5 separate regions of the Homo sapiens genome follow, and all the other regions are linked to region 3. The links are contacts of gene promoters, found by promoter capture Hi-C in blood cells and fetal thymus (Javierre and others, 2016). All regions are on one chromosome and are shown on one strand. The core of a region is centred on a gene start or on the middle of the fragment in contact, and the rest is flanking DNA. Distances in the headings are between cores, read along the strand shown.

Evidence for each region. The method cuts DNA at HindIII sites, captures the fragments that hold promoters and counts their contacts. A CHiCAGO score of 5 or more calls a contact.
Region 1: a fragment that was not itself captured here is called in contact with the fragment with the promoter of LIAT1 in region 3 in 16 of 17 cell types (fetal thymus, activated CD4 T cells, total CD8 T cells and 13 more); the score reaches 11.2 in fetal thymus.
Region 2: a fragment that was not itself captured here is called in contact with the fragment with the promoter of LIAT1 in region 3 in 1 of 17 cell types (M0 macrophages); the score reaches 6.1 in M0 macrophages.
Region 4: a contact is called between a fragment that was not itself captured here and the fragment with the promoter of LIAT1 in region 3, in 3 of 17 cell types (M2 macrophages, M0 macrophages and endothelial precursors). The highest score is 7.9, in M2 macrophages.
Region 5: a contact is called between a fragment that was not itself captured here and the fragment with the promoter of LIAT1 in region 3, in 7 of 17 cell types (M0 macrophages, fetal thymus, monocytes and 4 more). The highest score is 6.7, in M0 macrophages.

What each region holds. Positions count from the first base shown.
Region 1 is chr17:782,650-785,431 of GRCh38, reverse strand. MRM3 (mitochondrial rRNA methyltransferase 3) reads right to left here. Exons shown (of 4, transcript NM_018146.4): 1 at 2,740-2,782; 2 at 2,105-2,349. It also overlaps a transcript of GLOD4 not described here. Among named protein-coding and RNA genes, the nearest start is that of MRM3, 1.7 kb to the right of the region's middle. RefSeq lists enhancers at 2,552-2,782, 2,772-2,782. The HindIII fragment of the contact is 2,507 bases long and covers 260-2,766 here.
Region 2 is chr17:759,178-762,019 of GRCh38, reverse strand. GLOD4 (glyoxalase domain containing 4) reads left to right here. Exons shown (of 9, transcript NM_016080.4): 9 at 1,782-2,690. The coding sequence ends at 1,847. Among named protein-coding and RNA genes, the nearest start is that of GEMIN4, 8.3 kb to the right of the region's middle. The HindIII fragment of the contact is 914 bases long and covers 925-1,838 here.
Region 3 is chr17:409,040-411,739 of GRCh38, reverse strand. LIAT1 (ligand of ATE1) reads right to left here and starts at 1,415. Exons shown (of 2, transcript NM_001013672.5): 1 at 1,094-1,415. The coding sequence starts at 1,397. The region is part of intron 2 of LOC105371430 (a long non-coding RNA gene); the gene reads left to right. RefSeq lists a silencer at 1,274-1,363. The HindIII fragment of the contact is 6,027 bases long and covers 1-2,700 here.
Region 4 is chr17:150,653-153,352 of GRCh38, reverse strand. All of the region lies in intron 6 of DOC2B (double C2 domain beta), which reads left to right. Among named protein-coding and RNA genes, the nearest start is that of SCGB1C2, 14 kb to the right of the region's middle. The HindIII fragment of the contact is 3,739 bases long and covers 1-2,700 here.
Region 5 is chr17:740,280-743,102 of GRCh38, reverse strand. It overlaps TLCD3A (TLC domain containing 3A), which reads right to left. Exons shown (of 5, transcript NM_024792.3): 4 at 2,503-2,598; 5 at 135-1,802. The coding sequence ends at 1,533. Among named protein-coding and RNA genes, the nearest start is that of TLCD3A, 9.1 kb to the right of the region's middle. The HindIII fragment of the contact is 7,880 bases long and covers 1-2,823 here.

The DNA.
Region 1 (2,782 bases), core at 264-2,763, 370 kb before region 3:
AAAATTATATATACATTATATAATAATCTACATTATATAATCTCTACATTATTAATCTCTAAAGTTTTATGGAAAGAATTTATGGGAAAAGAGAAAAATTGGAAAAAGGCTAATAACAATATTAAAAATGGCTTTGAGTACATGAAATTGCTGTGGTATAGATGAAGTTATTCACATGGGTGTATCACATATCCACAAGTTTCTTTTTGAATCACCATGTTTACTGGTAGAGGTGATAATGATAACCTTTTAGTAAGCTTTTTTTTTTAAGCCAAGCACTACCCTAAACTCTTTATGTATAATTATCAAATATTCAATCCCTTTGTAGTCTGCTCCCAAGGGACTGTACAGTTTTTTTGAATCTTACTAGTATTTTGTCGTATATGATTGCTACAATAAATGGGCTACTGACTGAAGTCAGGAGATGAATGAAATAGTACTTGTACTGAAACATGATACAATCAAAGATTTAGGATTCTTTCTAAAAGATGGTGCAGGTAAAAAGCCTATCCACCACTGAAGGCAATGGAAGGGTATTAGGCGTCTGTGTGCTGTGAGAGAGCCTCCACTTCGGAGTCACAGATGGCCAAAAGCCATTCAGTAGGGCTGAGGACCTTAGAAGTCCTTTACTTCTACTTGGATGTCTGTGGTGATGAGAACCCACTATACGGAGGCCCTACTTATGTCGCTGGATTCTGGGGAGTGTCTGTCTAAAGCCTGACAGGTGCTGCCAGTTCCTATCCATTTCTCCCTTATTCCCTGCCCTCAAATCTAAAATATAGTAACATAAGGATAAGCCAGGAAATGATGAAAGCAGGTATGATGATGAAGTTCAAGATGGGTTGGCCACTGTAAGCACACCTGCCCCAAGTGACAAGCACAAGTTCAAGATGGGCTGGCCACTGTGAGCACACCTGCCCCAAGTGACAAGCACAAGTTCAAGATGGGCTGGCCACTGTGAGCACACCTGCCCCAAGTGACAAGCACGGTAAAAATGAATAACACTTTCACTGAAGCATGGCGTGTGGATTAGAGGGCTGTAGCTAGTGAGAATATGGTTACTTAGCATGAGTAATTCTAGGTACTTTAGTAATCCAAGTCCCCATCCTAGGATCTAAGAGCTCTGAGTGCAGAGGCACAGATCCCTGTGACTCACTGGGTTACAGAGACAAGAGATGGTTCCCCAGAATCTCCTCTCTCAGCAGTTCAAGGATTCAGTTTTCATATCTTAAAACTCCCATGTCAAAAACGTATGAAAAACTTATCTTCTCATATTTAGACCAAAGACTTTGTAACTGCTAATCAACATCGGAGTTACATAAGGTTAAGTCAGATTCAGCCAAATGAAGGAACAGACTAGAAGACAAGGTTCTCTGTTTATTGGGCTAAACGGGGCAGTAAATTGTGGCTTGTACCTCGCTTCTTAGATCTGCTTCTGGAATAAGCAGTTTATTGACAGTTATCACCACATTGGCAGAGGTTTTGCAAAAATGAAGGGCTCAATCTTTCAGTAAACGCTTTCTTAATTTTTAATCTGACATAGAAAGTTGAAGAAGTAATCTAAAAAATAGAAGGTTTGAGGAATAGTGGTTCTTCCTAGAGACCATAAAGAGCCACAACACAAATGATAGTGAAAAACGGGTTTCAATTTCCATTGAAAATACTCTAAGATACACAGGTTTGAGAATTATATTTTTCTAATTGTAACATTTTGAATTTCATTTCAATGCTGCTGTCCTAAGACAAGTATGAGAAATTAATCCTAGGTCTCCACACCTTAAGATACACTGTGTAAGGCCAGGCATGGTGGCTCACGCCTGTAATCCCAGCACTTTGGGAGGCCGAGGCAGGAGGATCACCTGAGGTCACAAGTTCGACGTCAGCCTGGCCAACATGGTGAAACCCCACCTCTACTAAAAATACAAAAATCACCCGGGCATGGTGGCAGACGCCTGTAATCCCAGCTACTGCGGAGGCTGAGGCAAGAGAATCCCTTGAACCCGAGAGGCGGAGGTTGCAGTGGGCCGAGATCGCGCCATTGCACTCCAGCCTGGGTGACAGAACAAGACAAAAAAAAAAAAAGATACACTGGGTAATCACTAACCCATTATTCCTTGTGGCGTTACGAGGTCGGACCAATCCTTGATATCCTCAAATTTCACCTTAATGAGGCTGACACCTTTCAGCTTATCGACTGGCAACTCCTTTAGGTATTCTAGACGGCTAAAGAAGAACATTTTTGGCACAGCTCCAGCCTTGAGAGCGTCTGAAATGAGCCTGCGACCTTCCAGCAGGATCTTCCCTTGTTTTTCCCGAAATGGCCTGGACTTTACTATTGTCATTACACTGCTGTAGATGGAAATAAAAAAAAAAAACAGGTAACTATCAACATCCTTGTTACTGAGACACGCTTAGTTGTAACAGAAATAAAGAGCTACGGAGAGGGCCGGGCGCGGTGGCTCACGCCTGTAATCCCAGCACATTGGGAGGCCGAGGCGGGCGGATCACCTGAGGTCAGGAGTTCCAGATCAGCCTGGCTAACATGGTGAAACAAAAACAACAACAAAGAGCTAAGGAGAAACAGAAGCTAATTCCAAAGACGCTTATTCGGCCCTCTGTGCATAATACAAAAACCAGCGGGCTGTACTGGAAGAAGTCCTCCATCGGAAGGAGGTTAAGGTTCCGCTGTGCGACGGGAAGGGAAACGAGAACATTCGACAGGCTCAAGAACCACATCACCTCAGCCTCCTGTCCCCGGGATAAGCTTTATCGTAGCGAAGCC
Region 2 (2,842 bases), core at 132-2,631, 350 kb before region 3:
TTCAAACTCTCTGACAGAGCATGTGACATTTTTGGACATTCTCTACCCTCTGACCTTCTTTCCCACCTGCCTCCCTAAGTCCCCTAACTCATCCCTATTCCAGTCCCACTGAACTGGTTATATTAGCTAAGATACTTCTTCTTGCATCCAACCCAAAGGGTTTTTTCCCTCTCCTCTTTTACTTGTCCTTCAACACTTAAAAGCTTTCTTAGGTTCAGCCGGGCGCGATGGCTCACCCCTGTAATCCCAGCACCTTGGGGGACCAAGGCGGGTGGCTCACCTGAGGTCAGGAGTCCCAGACCAGCCTGACCAACATGGTGAAACCCTGTCTCTACTAAACACAAAAAATTAGCCAGGCACGGTGGTGTACGCCTGTAATCCCAGCTACTTGGGAGGCTGAGGCAGGAGAATCACTTGAACCCAGAAGGCAGAGGTTGCAGTGAGCCGAGATGGCGCCGTTGCACTCCAGCCTGGGCGACAAGAGCAAAACTCCATTTCAAAAAAGAAAAAAAGCTTTCTTAGGTTCTCCAAATAATTTAGTTGTTCTTTCCTCCCACTTTTTATGGCTCCTAAAAGACAGAAACGTGCATATTTGTGACTTGTGGTTTTTTTAAGCATATCTTTGATTTTTAAATTCTTATTTTCATCAAGATAATAAATCAGATAGTACTAAGATTTTTTAGAAATGAAACGGTCCAACTCTGAGTCACACTACCTAGGACAGCCACTTTCACCTTCACTGTTTCTAAATAATAAATATATTTGTTTCTTCTTTTTCAATTGCCACCTCATCTTGTGACTTCCTGCTGAGGTAGATATTATAGCAAATGCTTCAAGACACACACATGCGTACACACACTCTGTCATGCAAAATACTTGTTTCCATATCTGAGTTCTCAGCTGTTCTGCACACTCCTCAAAGCTTCCGACTGTCTCTGCTGCCACATCTGAACCCAGCGTGGTACCTGGCTCTTTTTGACTACATAAATGAGTGTTTGTCCTTACTAAACAACGAAAGGGATGCTTGTGGAACCAAAACATTATTGTTAAGGCTTTGTATTATTCATTTATTTTTATTTGTATCTGTATGTATGTATATGAGACGGGGTCCCACTCTGTTACACAGGCTGAACTCGAATTCCTGAGCTCACGTGATCCTCTGGCCTCAGCCTCCAAGTGGCTGTGACTATAGGTGTGACCACTGGGCACGGCTTAAGGCTTCCTTTTTAATTAAGATGCCCAAACTAAACAGAACCAACATCAGAAGAGTAGGCCGGGAGGAGACTTACGAAAAAGGAATCATTCCAGGCTTCATCACTAAAACATCACGTAGAGTTTCATATTTGGCCTCACTATCAGACTGAGTTTCATGACACTAAAGATTCTTGAGCGTCTGCCCAGATGCTGTGAGTGGCAGGACTTGCTCTTTTACCAGAGATCCTACCGCCTGGCATGCGGGTCCCTGACCTCGTTGGTCCGCCAGCCACACTTCCTGGCTACAGGCTTGGTTTGCCCTTGACTCTGCCGAGTGAGGATCCACAGTTGCTCATTATCACCAGTATCTCTTGCCTTATTGAACATAACACTCTGTACTGGATTAATACTCTTTAAATGTTAAAAAATTTTTTTTATTTCTCTTCTCTTTTTTTTGGAGCGGGGGTTTGGGTCCTTTTTTTAATGTTAATTTTTTTTATTGTGGTCAGTACAGTGAGATATAAAGTGGGCTATGTCTTTTGTTTTTCAGGCTTGGAGTCAGTGTATATTCTATTTCTATTTTACAGGCAATGGCAGCAGATAAAAGTGACGAGTGGTTTGCCAAACACAATAAACCCAAAGCTTCAGGTTAACGGAAGACATGATGCAGAGCAAGCCTCTGTGATTCCTGCCCAGCACCTGTGAGGCCTGACGTGTCAGTTCCCAATAAATGCTCTTCTGATTTGTTTCCCGTACAGGCAAGGAGGCTTGGGTAGTGCAGATTTGTGTATTTCAATCTTTGAAAGCTCTGATGTAATTTAGAAATGAAATCCAATCATGAGTCCAGGTAGAGAACGCCTGCTGTAATCTACACTGTTGCTGGGACTGCGCATTCTGTATATAACTGTGTTGGATGAGTGACAGATGATTGTCCAGACTAGGACAGCGGCATGAACATGACTTTGGTTGGGATTGCGGATAGTTAGGGTTACCTCTGAATCGTGTAGCTTTTATGAGAGCAGCTGTGCAAGTGAATCCACATTAATGCCTTGTCGTGGTGCCATTCCCAGCGCCTGACGATACGCTCTTCTATTGTCTTATTCTGGCAGGTTTTGACGTTTTAAATTTTTTAAAGAAATTTTATTCCTTGGACCAAAAGGTTTGGTTAACCACCCCCCTCTTACTTGCTTTCACATTTTGAGTGTCCAGAGGAAACAGAAAGGAATGAGTGTGTGACGTTGCTGCACGCCTGACTCTGTGCGAGCTTCTTTCTGTGTATATATTTTGTTTTATTTTTTTCCGTGTATATTTTTAATCCCGACAGAACATCATGTGAGATTTCTTTAAAATGGATTAAACGATTTCTTCAGCCTGAAAAAAAAGGTTTTGAAAATGTTTTCTTGTAGTTTTGTTTGGTTCTAAACAACAAATAGGTTTTAATCACTCGAAATGGAATTATATTGTGTATTCATTGAATAAATTTTTTTTGAAAGTAAGCTTCTGAAATCAAGCTGTGATACCAGTCTCTAAGTCTCATCATGTAAAGTGGTGGCCAGGTTCAGATTTTTAAAAATAAACTTAGGAGATTGGAAGGGATTGACTCAGAGGATCCTGGTTCCCAAAGAACACATAGAGAATTACTTGTAAA
Region 3 (2,700 bases), core at 166-2,665:
AGAAGAGCTTGGTGAGATGTAGGGACTGGGGTTTATGGCAGGTAGGGTATGTGTGTTTGTGAAGGTGTCCCTGAGAGAGACTGCAATTCCTGCCTGCATATGACTACACACGCGAATGGATAACGTATTAACAGTCTGTGTGTGTAGACTAGGAATGTGTGTGCATGAGGGGGATCTGTGCTTTAGTTTTCTTGTTTGTTTTTTTGAGAGACAGGGTCTTGCTTGTTGCCCAGGCTGGAGTGCAATGGTGCGATCATAGCTCACTGCAGCCTGGAAGTCCTGGGTTCAAGTGATCCTCCCACCTCGGCCTCCCAAAGTGCTCGGATTACAGGTGTGAGCCACTGCGTCCCGCCCTTTAGTTTCACTGTTGGTGTTACATTGATAGAAGGTGGGGGGAGTGGTTGAGGGTGTCCCCCGCCCTTTAGTTTCACTGTGGGTGTTACACTGATATGAAGCGGGGAGTGGTTGAGGGTGTCAGGGATTATAGGAGGATGTCACAGTGACTGGTGTCATGGGGTTTGTGCAGTCCAAGGCTGCCCCTTGGTGGGTGCGAGGGGGAGCCCATGCAGCGAGGACCTTTAATACACACGTCTGTGGGTGTGGGTGTCTACCGCGCATCCACAGGCAGGCAGCCTTAACGCAAGAGGGTGGGAGGAGGGGAGGCAGGAGTCTGCCCTTCTCTGTGCATGAGAGTGAGGGCCTTTCATGTGGCATCAATGTGTTTGGGGTGGGGAAAGTGTCTTGTGAGGAGGGCCTCTGTGGGGAAGGCGCAGACGTTTAAGACTGCCAGTTTTGGCTGAGGGATTAGGAAGTTGAGAGGGTGTCTTTGTGTGGGGCTGGAAGGCTCTTAGGAATGGTGGATATCTGTAGGGGTCTCTGTGTGGGGCTAAGGGACCGCAGAGTTGGTGGATGGTCTCCACGGGTGGGGCTGGGGCATCAACGTGCTGCTGACGGGCATGTGTGGGGAGCAGGAGGACCTCGGTCCGGGACCACTGAGCTTCTGTTTCCGGTCTGAAGGGTAAATGGGGGGTGGGTCCCCAAAGAGTCTCCAGGGAACCGGAGCTGACGCAGCCGGGCTAGCTGCTCCTCTTACCGTCCCCCTTGCCAGACCCCTTGGTCTTCTTCTTCCTTTTTTTCTTCTTCACCTTCCGTTTGGCCAGCTCGGAGGCGCCGCCTGTGATGGGGGGCAGTCTAGACCCCCGCGGGCCCGCGGCGCCGCCCTCCCGCTCCTCCTCCTCGCCGTCGTTGTCCTTGTACCCCATTGTCCCCGCCCCACCGCGGCGGTCCAGCCGCCCGCTGGGCTGCAACCCAACCCGCCCCGGGGGCGCCCGAGGCCCGATGCCGACTAATCGGCGACTCTCAGCGCGGACCGCCAGGCCAGGGCCACGCGTCTCCATGGCGACCACCCCTGCTGCGCCTGCGCAGTCAGGACGCTTCCGCCCGGTGCCCCACGGACCGCGGTGTGCGCATGCGTGCTTCCGTCTTTTGGCGACCTTGGCACACAGCGGTGTGCGCATGTGTGCTTCTGTCGGGGATCTCGAGAACAGAGCGTTGTGCGCATGCGTACATCTGTCGGAGTGCTAGGTACGCAGCGGTGCGCGCATGCGTGCTTCCATCTGTTGGCGATACCGGCACAGCGATGTGCGCATGCGTGCTTCTGTCTGCGGAGACCTCCGCGCATAGAAGTGTGCGCATGCGTGCGTCTGTCGGAAACCTCCGCACACAGAGGTGTGCGCATGCGTGCTTCTGTCGGGGACCGCGGCGCACGGTGGTTCGCCCATGCTTGCTTTTGTCTGTTGGAATCTGGACAGTTGACCGCAGGAAGGGGAGGGTGGGCAGAGAGATTTTAAATCCCTGGGCTGACACTCATCTCGTCCAGTCCCGTGCCTCGATCCTCCTGCCTTGGCCTCCCATCCCCACGCCTGGCTAAGAGTTTTGATTTTTGGTTTCAGGCTGGTCTCGAACTCCTGGGCTCCATCGATCTTCCCGCCTCGGCCTCCTAGATCGCTGGGATCACAGGCATGAGCCTCCGTGCTCGGCCTCCTGTACCTTTTTAAATGCTGTGTATTCTCCCCTCAATTTTTATTGCCTGAGTTTCAGCCTCGTACATCTACCCTGGACTCTCAAAGCCAATGTGTCCAAAACAAACTTACTTCTTCATGGTTTTCCACTTTAGTGAACAAAACCGCTGGACTGGCTGGAAACCTGGTGGGCTTCCGTGTCCCCTACCCTCTCCCTTGTCCCTTACCCAGGCTGGGGCCGACTGCCGTGTCTGGCACTGGGACTTCTGGGTCCTCTCCTGAATGGTCTCTGCTTTCAAACCTTCCCCACGAACTCTTTTTCCGCACAGCTGCTAGAACAAACTTTTAAAAACAACCAAACCGTTCACTCTCTTGCTAAAAGTCTCCAGTGATGAAAAACAAAACATAAAAAGCCAAAAAGTCCTCCATTGCTTCCTCATCACAATTTACATCAAGATCTAAACTCTTGTGGGGCTCTGTGCAGGGCTGACACCCGTAGTCCCAACACTTTGGGAGGTCAAGGTGGGTGGATCGCTTGAGCCCATTCTGGGCAACGTAGTGAGACCCCATCTCTACAAAAAATTAACCAGCTGCGCTGAGGGGCACTTGTGGAGGAACTTGAGCCTGCAGTGAGCCGAGATCGCACCACTGCTGTCCAGCCTGGGTAACAAAGCAAGAC
Region 4 (2,700 bases), core at 26-2,525, 260 kb after region 3:
TGCTGGGTTGCCCAGAAAGCAGAGTCTTACCTGCTGTGACAGATGGTCTGGTCAACTTCCACAGGCAGGCGGGGGGCCATCTGGGCAGGGCCTGTCCACTGTACCACAAGCTCCTCCCTGCCACAGGTGGCTGCTGTGGGTGCTGCTGGACCCCTGCAGCTGGGTCCCACCTGCCAGCCGTGGGCCAGGTCACGTGGCCTTTCAAAGACAGGCCGAGCTGTGGGCCACTCCCTGTATCTGAGCCACGCCTCACCCGAGACCTCCACATCTGTTTCAGACACCCTGGGTGAGACACGACGGCTGCTGCTCGGGGCTCCTCAGGGGTCCCCGTCTCTGAAAGGCCCCTTCATGGACCAGGGGCCTCTTCCTCACTAAAGCAGAGGAAATAAGGGCACAGATTAGATGGTAAGAGGGGCACCCCTCAGCTGCATCCTAGACCTGGAAGAGAGTGTGACCTGTGCCCCAGAAGAAAGGGAGGGACGTATCTAGCGGTTGATGCTGAGGGCCAAAGCTAGATGGGTCAAGGCCTTTTGTCTGCACTATTATTTTTATTTGTTTTCTTTATTTCTTCCTTTCTTTTTTGAGACAGTGACTCACTCTGTCACCGGGCTGGAATGCAGTGATGCGATCACAGCTCACAGCAGCCTCAAACTCCTGGGCTCAAGCAGTCCTTCCCCCTCAGCCTCCTGAGTAGCTGGGACTACAGGTGTGCACCACCACGCCTGGCTAGTTGTTTTTTGTATTTTTTGTAGAGACTGGGTTTTGCCGTATTGGCCAGGCTGGTCTCAAACTGCTGGACTCAAACGATCCTCCTAGCTCGGCCTCCCAAAGTGCTGGGATTACAGGTGCAAGCCACCATGCCCAGCTAGCACCATTATTTTTATAAAGCTCATCTCTGGTGATACTTGCCCCAGTTTCCCCAGGCCGGAAGTTGACCCCAGGCCCAGCTCTTGAGGGTTTGATGGAAAACCCCAGGAGTAGCAGTGCCTGTGACAATCGCTGACATGTCGAGTTACACGTAATATCCCTGAGCTGCGCGATGGCTGCGTGTGACGCGCTCAGCAGCCTGTGCGGTCGCTCCTGTTGTTATCTCCATTTCATGCCCGTGAAAATGGCAGTAACTGGCAGCAACGTGCTGTGCCACCCTGGGCAACTCCCTTCTCTGGCTGTCTTATGTATAACCAGAAGGGGTTTCTTCTCAAAGCCACAGGCAAGCAGAAGGCACTGTGCAGAGGGCTCAGAGGTACACGGCACAGGGCGGCTCCGTGAGCCCCGGTGGCCAGGACCACTGTCCTGACAGCAAGGGAGGGAGAGACGCCACAGGGCGGGCCTCAGGGGCTTTGCAGGGTGGGCTTGTGCCAGAGTAGGGTATGCTCAGGGAGGGTGCTGAGGGATTTCCCCAGAGTGGTCAGGTGAGGAGGGAAGGGCACTTCTGGTAGAGAAAACAGCAGAACAGAGGGCAACGCTGGCGGAACTGTCCATGGCTGAAGGTGCCGAGGCTGGAGCCTGTCGTGGAAGTCTGGTGGCTGAGTGAGGGGTCACCAGATGGGCACAAGTTGTCCAGGCTGAGGGTGCAGAGATCCCAAAACAACTTTCCTTCCAGGGGCTTGTGAAGGCAGGGCACGCAGGACCCTTCTGTCCCTGCTCCTCACCCGTCACCAAACAGGCCAAGGACAGTTCACAGCAGACACAATATACCAATACCTAGAGAAATGGCCAAGGAGCATAGTAAGTAACTAAGGAAATCCGCTGTCTCCGGGTGGCGGGCTTAGGGGAATCCCCCCAAACTTTTTTAAAATCAGGTTTATTGAGGTACAGGTTGAGCGTCCCAAAGCTGTAAATCCAAAACCCCAAACATTCCAAGCACCGACATGACGCTCAAAGGGAATGCTTATTGGCGCGTTTGGGATTTCAGATTTTTGAATTTTTGAGTTAGGGATGCTGAACTGGTAAATATACTGCAAAGATTACAAAATATGAAAAAATCCAAAATTCAAAACATCTGGTCCAAGCATTTCAGATAATGGATCCTCAACCTGTATCATTCATATCCAGTGAGTTTTTCTTTTCTTTTCTTTTTTTAGAGACAGGGTTTTGCTCTGTTGTCCAGGCCAAAGTGCAGTGGCGCAATCATAGCTCATTGCAGCCTTGAACTCCTGGGCTCAAGCATCTTCCCACCTCAGCACTGTGAATAGCTGGGACTACAGGCATGCACCACCATGCCCAGCTAATTTTTAATTTTTTGGTAGAGATGGGGTCTCGCTGTATCACCCAGGCTGGGACAGTCTTGTTTCCACCACCAGAATCAACACAGAGAATATGACCCCAGAAAGTTCCCTGGCCCCAGGCAACCACTCACCTGTTTTCTGTCTCAATGGTGTTGCCGTTTCCAGACTTTCCCATGAAACAGTCAGATAGTGTGTTGCCCTGTGAGTCCGGCTTCTTTCACACGGAGGAATGCGTTTGAGATTCATCTGTCAGTTGCATGTACCAGGAGTTTGGTCCTTTTTGTTGCTAAGTGGTCTTCCATTGTGTGGGTAAACCACAAGTTTGTTGTTGATGAGTTCCCCAGTTGAAGGGCGTGTGGTTGTTTGCAATTTTTGGTGATGGTAGAAAGCTGCAATGAACAGGTTTTTGTGTGGACATATGTCTTCATTTCTCTCTCCTAATCCCAACTTTTGTCCACATGCATTTTCTAGT
Region 5 (2,823 bases), core at 138-2,637, 330 kb before region 3:
ATTCACACACACACCCCTCTGCTAGTTACATGGACACAGACCTTGAGCCACAGCACACGGCAGCCAGTCGAGCTAGGTCACAGGATGATTCTTACAGGACACTGATATTGATGTATTTCACAAATGAGAATAAGTTGGGAATGTTAGTGCAATTTAATCACCGTAAGGGTGACTTTTAAAGATACACTGATAGTTAAAAAAAAAAGACAATTAAAAAATAGCATTTTGTTTTTTAAATGGCACCCATTAAAGACTCAACAGTCAAAATGAGACAAATCAGTCCTTTAGACGTTCACAGACAATTGAAAGGCACTTTAAAAATCCACTTTTTAAACTACCACTTGAGAACACATGGTAGCACAGTCTTAAATTCATCCTAGTTGATCGGGAATGATGAATGAGTGTTGGCACCAGAAAATCCTGCTTGCAGAAGGGGGCGCAGGTGTCGGTCCACGGGACAGCCACTGGCCAGGCTAGCTGCCGCCTCACTCCGCAGCCTTCTGTGGCTAAATGGCAGGACGGACACACAGGAATGGGCTTTGGACCACAAGCTCTGGCATATCGGGAGGCAAAGCACTCAAGTACTCTGCAGTCTAGATGACACATTTCATGGTTTGGAGGACAGAAGTAGGTTTCCACATCACATGAAAAGGACAGTGTCACAGTGGGGTTACCCAGTAAACAGCTACCAAAGCCATCATTTCACGCTTCCCTGTAGTTTTATGAGCTCGCCCTCTGCATGTGGATATGGGGAAAGCCGGGCATGAAGGGGTGTGTGAAAAAGAACAGCCTCTGTGACTGACTGCAGTAAGCTCACAAGTTTGTCACTGTCAGACTTAGCAAGTCAGCCTGCAAAGGTTGTGCTGATCTCTTGGCCACACTACCTACTCAGGTTCCCATCCATGCCTCCTGCCTGCCCCCACCCCCAGCCCCACCAGTGAGACTTCTGATTGGAAGTCTATAGACATAAGAATTCAACTCTGACCCATGGATGAGAGGATGAGGCAAAGAACCAATGGGTTATCTAGTAAACGATCAATAACTACCTACCCACAATGATTGTCCCAGGCCAATGTCACAAGACGACATTACTTCCAAGAACCAAGTCATCCCTTGCTTCTGCGGGCCCAGTGCCACGGGTACTGTCCTGAGTGGTTTGGAAGGTGGGTAGCCGCTGATACAGGGACAGGCAGATGTGCAGACACTTACCACCCTGGTCCACCGATCCCACCCCATGCTTCCACCTCCCAGAGCTCTTGAGATAAGACCTTAAGAAGGATCCTTGGGCTTGCATTAAAACCACTTTGCTGTCCGTGGAGGTCTGACAGGACCCAATAGTTGTTACTACAAAAGTGCTTTTGCAAATAGGGCAAGTTAGAAGAAGGAGGTAATATGAATATTCTTTAGAAAAACTCAAATCCATCGGCTTATCAATACCCAAAGTCTGAGGCTACCCAGGGCACAATTTGGTCCATGGAATGCTGAGTGGAGGAGGCAGCTGGTGTGAGGCTGCGCCTGACTCCCAGGAGCATTTAGCCATCCTTTTTGGCTTGGGGAGTGTCAAAGAGCCGGACTGCCTTCCTGCACAGCAGACAGAACCAGTAGATCTGAGGAGCTACGAGGAAGGCATTGGCCACGTTGCAGTAGAATGGGATGCTGAAGGGTACTTGGAGCAGGCTTAGTCCCTGCTGGCGGCCATAGGACCAGTACATGAAGGGGAAGAGAAGGATCCGGCAGGAAAGGAAGGTGGCCAGCGTGAGGATTCCATTCACCTTGTACAGAAGGGTGTGCTGCTGCTTTAGCTGCAATAGAAGAGGAAGGAAAAAGGTAAGGTCACCAAGAAGCTGGGCATCAGGGAGCGACGGGCCCAAGTCCCACCACAGTAAATGCCACACAGGTGCAGGTGCTCATCAAGACCTTGGCTGTCAGATTCCCTGGCGCCCAGACGTTTGTCTAGTTTTCTAACACTTGGAGAAGACATTCTTGAACACTATCATATTGAGATGTGCAAATAACCTCATTTTCTCCAATAGTGATTTTGAATTTGACCCAGGCCACCCAGCTGACAGGAGTACAGGAACCGTGGATTAAAGTATGTGTGTAACCAGGGAAAAAATAGAATGAGCTGTATCAAACTATCAAACTTAGATCAAACCTACAATTTCACCCCCACTGGCTGAGATGACCAGCTGACCTTTAAGGCTGTTGAAGGATCTCTCATCCCACTCTCCTGGCACTAGGGATTTCTCCACACCCACCATCTCCGAAGGAAAAGCAGAATCCACTCCCTCCCACACTCTTTCTGCCATTTCATTCATGCATGCCTGAATCAGAACCCTCACTCTCTCTGCCATTCATTCATACATGCCTGAATCAGAACCTTCACTCTCTCTGCCATTCATTCATACATGCCTGAATCAGAACCCTCACTCTCTCTGTCATTTCATTCATACATGCCTGAATCAGAACCCTCACACTCTCTGTCATTTCATTCATACATGCCTGAATCAGAACCCTGCCCAGCGACACAAACGGAGTGCTCAGTTCTGCCGTGAAGATGCAGCCGACAAAGAAGTCCCCAAGGTCTCCCCGGAGCCTCTGCGGATGACGAAACGAAAAGGGGAAGTAAGTGGAGGTTAAGAAACCACCAGAAGGAAAATTCCAACGAGGGCTACTGAAAAGGGTAACTGTGACGGGCAAAGGACGCTCAATAGGCAAGCGCAGACTACTGTACCGCTGCTTCCGTGGCAACAGCACTTTGATGGTCCAAGCCCTAGGATCCAGAGGCAAATTCAGACAGGATGACGGCGTCCCACACCAAGC